2 separate regions of the Homo sapiens genome follow, and region 2 is linked to region 1. The links are contacts of gene promoters, found by promoter capture Hi-C in human tissues and cell types (Jung and others, 2019). All regions are on one chromosome and are shown on one strand. The core of a region is centred on a gene start or on the middle of the fragment in contact, and the rest is flanking DNA. Distances in the headings are between cores, read along the strand shown. Region 1 holds the start of VAMP1 (vesicle associated membrane protein 1). Region 2 overlaps VWF (von Willebrand factor).

The links. Contacts are between HindIII fragments. The study calls those that stand out against the background at their distance.
Region 2: a fragment that was not itself captured here is called in contact with the fragment with the promoter of VAMP1 in region 1 in 1 of the 25 tissues and cell types used here (mesenchymal stem cells).

The regions. Positions count from the first base shown.
Region 1 is chr12:6,469,262-6,471,961 of GRCh38, reverse strand. It overlaps VAMP1 (vesicle associated membrane protein 1), which reads left to right and starts at 1,285. Exons shown (of 5, transcript NM_014231.5): 1 at 1,285-1,432. The coding sequence starts at 1,431. It also overlaps a transcript of TAPBPL not described here. RefSeq lists silencers at 734-993, 1,204-1,253, 1,754-1,803. The HindIII fragment of the contact is 3,078 bases long and covers 244-2,700 here.
Region 2 is chr12:6,091,535-6,094,234 of GRCh38, reverse strand. All of the region lies in intron 6 of VWF (von Willebrand factor), which reads left to right. Among named protein-coding and RNA genes, the nearest start is that of VWF, 32 kb to the left of the region's middle. RefSeq lists enhancers at 1-396, 397-993. The HindIII fragment of the contact is 7,255 bases long and covers 1-2,700 here.

The DNA.
Region 1 (2,700 bases), core at 36-2,535:
TGCATGCACAAGAGTGAAATATAGAAATCGGTATGTATATAAACCCATATTTTCAATACATGTAAAACAAAAATGCTAAGTGGTAAGGAAAGCATTTGTCACAGATAATTTGCAACCTTTTTTCTTTTTTTTTTTGAAACAGGGTCTTGCTCTGTTGCCCAGGCTGGAGTGCAGTGGCGTGATCTCGGCTCACTGCAACCGTCGGCTCCCGGCTTCAAGCGATTCTCTTATCTCAGCCTCACGAGTAGCTGGGATTACAGGCGCCCGCCACCATGCCTGGCTGTTTTGTATTTTTAGTAGAGACAGAGGTTTCGCCATGTTGGCCAGGCTGGTCTCGAACTCCTGATCTCAGGTAATCTGCCTGACTCGGCCTCCCAAAGTGCTGGGATTACAGGTGTGAGCCACTGCGCCCGGCCTTGTAACCTTTTTTCTTAGCGGGACATAAAATAATGGTGAATTTTCCAACTGATGGAGTCCAGGAAAGGGATAATAGTGAGCAGAGGGGAGATAATCACTGGAATGCCAAGAAGGAAAAATCAACTCGATTTGGCAGATTACTGGGGGAGAGGTAAAGGTGAAGGGGAGGAAATCTAGGATGGTTTCCACGTTTCTGGTCTGGGCAACTGAGTCGATGTGGTAACCTCGACTGGAGCAGGTTTGGGAGGGAGTTCAATTTAGGAAGGCTATGTTGAAAGAAACGAATGAACGAAAGCTTCGTGCTTGCTTTGGTGGGACGGAACCCCGCATCCGGTATCTGGCACCAGGAGCTTGTGGCTGTGTCTCGAGGCTCCTGCACCCTCTCAGAGCGTTAGTTAGAGGCGGGGCGGTGGTGCGGAGCGAGGGCCAGAGCAGGGCACCAGGGCTGGGCGCGCACCAGGAAGCCGCCGCCTCCAGCTGAATGCGCGAGTCCCGGCGCGGGGTGGGGCAGGGGCGGGCACGGTCTTCAGTAACTGCCTAGCGATTGGTTGGGAGGCACCACAAATGCCTAACAAACTGCTGAAGCGCCCTCCGAAGGGACAGACCTCATCTCCACCCCGCCCCGTCCCTCCGCCAGACTGGAGCGCAAACTATGGTCGCATTGATCACTGAAGGATCCTCACAGCAACCGCTCCTTTCCGGAGTCGGATGAGAGGAGAGTTGTGACTGGCAATTGGCAGGGGCGGGGCGGGCTAGGCCTGTAGCGCTGGGCGACCGTCCTGGGCATGGATTGGGCCGCGGGGTTGTCACCGTTATCCGGGAGGCGTGGTCAGCACTAATAAAGGCGGAGGCCGGCGCGGCAGCTGCAGTAAGTTCCAGCGCAGCTAGACCGCGGGGTAGTCGGCGCGAGGCGGAGCTTGGCAGTTCCGTCCACTTCAGCCGCAGCGTCCCTCACCGGGTGTCTCGCCGCAGCCTCCGGAGAGGAACAGACCCTCACTCTCTCTGTCAGAAAAATGTGAGTTGACTCTGGTGTGGGGGCTCGGCACCTCCTTGACAACTCTCGCCCCAAGCTCCCGATTCTGCGGGACGGAAAATGGCGCAATGCAGCAGCTGCAGCAACGCGGGGAACTACCACCGCGCGCCGCTTCCGGACCGGGCCACCCCCAGGGAGGGGGGCCAGCACCCCATTCTCGCACCAGCCACAGCTAGCACCCCACGGGCGGGGCAGGGGCGCAGGGGTCCCACAATCATTGCACCCTCTCCTCTCGTCTGAGTGGCGCCTCATTCTGGTTTTGGTATAGTGGAGACTCGGAGAGGGCGGGGGCTGGGGGTGGTGGATGGAGACAACTGGGCAGGGGACTCGAAAGGTATTTCTGTCATCTGGCTAAATCACTACTCAGCGCCTCAGGAAAGACAGTCATGGGTGCAACTGCCAGTTGGTAACTTATGTTGCCCTACAATCTCTGGATTTGTTTACCCCTCACCCAAAGTGTGATGTCTAGCCCCCCTCATGGCAGTGAGCAAAGCTGCAGAAACTTATCTGCCAGTTCTCTGGCACCAGGTGAGCAGCTCAGAAAGACTCAAGGGGTAGTGGGATAGTGGCCTGTCATCCCAAGCGGCTGTTCATACCAAGGCCATTCGTATAGGAGATGTTTTTCTATCACCGAGTCTTACCAAATAGTTGGAGGAGAAATAGGGAGAGCTGAGCTTTCCCCCTTTCCTCCAACACACACAGTTTAGTCTCCAGCAGTCTTCAACATCACCCCCTTCGCATGATCTTGAGGGAAAACTACGGCTAAACAAACGAAGTACTTCTCTGTCAAGACCTCAATATGTCTAATACAGATTTTTCTTTCTGATTACTACCCTGGCCTGGTCCTAGATGTATTTATGTTGCTTCTCTAAGTGACAAAAAAGGGAAAGATTTACTTGTGTTACATAAGGGTTGTAATTATCCCTAGATATTTTACTGTTGAGTGTTTCCAACTCCCAACAAGTAGTAAGTGAAATTGGCCTTGCAAATACTTCATAGCCATTTCACTTTTTCTTTTTGATTTCTATGGTTTTAACCAGATATGAGTGTTCTATGCATTTTGGGCAAGCCGTAGAATTCCAGTTGTTTTCATTTTGGGGAGGGGGCTTCCAGATAGTATCTACGTGGGATGAACAGAAGGCAACAGAAAAATCGTGGTGGCTAGCGGGGCATCACGAGGTCTCTGACCTTAATCTTGTCATTGGTGCTACCATCCTGGACTGCTTCCAACACTGGCTGCTACCTACTCA
Region 2 (2,700 bases), core at 7-2,506, 380 kb after region 1:
AATGGCTTAAAACAGTAGGCATTTATTTTCTCCCAGTTCTGGAGGCTGGAGGTCCAAATTTAGTTTCCCTGGGCTGAGATCAAGGTGTTGGCTGGCTTTGCTCCTTCCAGAGGCTCTAGGTCCTTGCTTCCGTCATTTTTGGGTGGCAGCGGCATTCCCTGTCTTTGGGCTCATGACTTCAATTTCTGCCTCTGTGGTCACATGGCCTTCTCCTCTCCTGTGTGTGCTAATGCCTGCCAACCCTGACAAGGCTGGGAGGACTGCCCCACCCCTTCCACAGAGCCCTGTTGCCACTTACAAGGTAGCCTTGTAGCAGCTCTGTCTGCATCAGAGTTGCCATTCATGATCTCACTCACCAGGACCTCACACTGGAGAGAAGGGGAGGTGGGGAGGGGTGGCCAGACCACACTCTGCCTTCACCTGCCACAGGTAAAGATGGTCTTTGTGCCTCTCTGTGTGTGGGTGTTTGGGGCAAGAATGCTTTATGTGGGGCAAGACCTCACTCAATGGGTAATTCCCTCCCCACTGTGGAACAGGCTGACTTGGGCTGAGGAGGTAGGTGCAGCTGTGAAGCTGGACTCCTGTGGGGAACAGGGGTTGTTGCCCTTTTGGGATTGTGCTCAGAGACTCATCATCTGAGGAGCAAGGTTCCTTGGTGGTGCTGTGAGTCAGCCTCCCTGGGCGGGACGTTTGTATGCAGGAGGTTTACTGGGGAGCTCTCGAGCAGCCTTGGTTAGGAAGTGAGAGAAGCAGAGTTGGGCAGTGGGAGAAGTTGAACTGCTTGTGATAGCACTGATAGAGCTTCAGCGGGGCCTCAGCTGATCCTTCAAGGAGCTCTGGAAGGTGGAGTGGCCCCTGTTGGTCACTGGATGTGGGCTGCCCTGGGTAAGGAGGTGGAACTCCCTTGGGCTGAGGGCCATTCCTGAGGAATGACTCAGTGGTGAGCCCTTGGCAGCCAACACTGGACAGCTGGTGGATGAGTCCTCGGGCTCTGAATGGGCACCTACGCTGTGCCCCGACACCTACGCTGTGCCCCGACACCCTCTACAAAGCTGCTCTGCTTGACAGCACCACCTTCCTGCCCTTATCCAGAGAGCAACCACACTGTCAAAAATGTCAACTGAAGAATCACAAGGTTCATAAACTTAGAGAGGAGAGCTTTTCTTATTCAGAGTTGTGGCCTGCAGGCTGGCCATCCTGCAGGCTGGGAAGTGTAGCCTCTGGTAGAAACTGAAAGCAGGCACTTCAAGGGAGAAAGGGGTGGAATAGAAACTTATTCCAAAAGGGTTGGCTCAGTGTACATATTTAACAGGTTATGGGAGGAGCTATGAATATTCATAATGGGAGGAGGCATTTGCATATACAGTAAGCAAACATACATGTTACATATGTCCCACATTCATTTTGGGATGGAGACTTAACATTTAAATGCATTAAAATTAGCCTCTATAGGTCAAAAGGTGAAATGGAGGACACAGAGGCATCTTGTGCACAGCCTCTGTAAATCAGCCAGAACCATTCCGTGGTTGGTGGTCTCTTACCAGGAAGGAATGCTGGTCAGCACACACACACACACACACACACACACACACACACACACACACACACACACACACTCTCACTCACTCACTAACTAGCTGGGCATGGTGGCATGCACGCACGCACACACACTAGCTGGGCATGGTGGCACACGCGCGTGCACACACACACACACAGACAAACACATACTAGCTGGGCATGGTGGTGCACCAGTAATCCCAGCTAATGGGAGGGCTGAGGTGGGAAGATGGCTTGAACCTGGGAGGCAGAAGCTGCAGTGAGTTGAGATTGCATCACTACACTCCAGCCTGGGTGAAAATGTGAGACCCTGTCTCAAAAGAAAAAAAAAAACCCGCAAAAAGGGAAGGGAGTCCCTGCTGGGCCAGTTCTGTTTAACTCTTAGGAAAGAAAGTCTAATGGTGGTTAGCGAGGGAGAGGGTATAAGGAGGGGTGTTCAACCTCCCATCCTATCATGGCCAGGAACTCAGTTTTAATATTTCTCTGGGGTCCCTTTGGCCAAGGGGGAGTCCGTTTAGTCGGTAGGGGGGCTTAGGATTTTATTTTTTTCTGAAAACCTACAAACATGCACAAAGAGGGTGGCCCCTGCCTATACCCAGGACCATGGTCATGATGGACGCGACAGGCCACAGTTGCCTTTGTCTGGGCATGGGCCACTCTGCAGAGCGTGAGTGCATGCTGCAGTCACCCGAGTGCGCAGCCCATCAGCAGAGCAGTAGGGCAGGTGCTCTGTGATTTTGTTCATCCCATGAGAAAACAAGCCATAGGAGGTTAAGTAGCTGCCCCAAGTCGCCAGCTAGCAAGGTGCAGAGCCAGGACTCATGCCCTGCCTGGCTCCCTCCCTTTCCTGTTCGGGTCACATTGGTTCAGGCTACTCAAGTTATTTCTACCAGTGGGCCCTTGTGTTTCTCTTGGGGAGTTGGGCTTTGCAGGTTCTTAAGGTTTCTTTAAGTTCTAAAACCCTTTATTAGCCTGGTGCGGTGGCTCATACCTGTAGACCCAGCTGCTCAGGAGGCTGAGTCAGGAGGATCACTTGAGCCCAGGAGGTAGAGGCTGCAGTGAGCTACAATTGCACCACTGCACTCCAGCCTGGGCAACAGAGTGAGACCCTGTCTATAAAACAAAACCAAAACCAAAACTCTT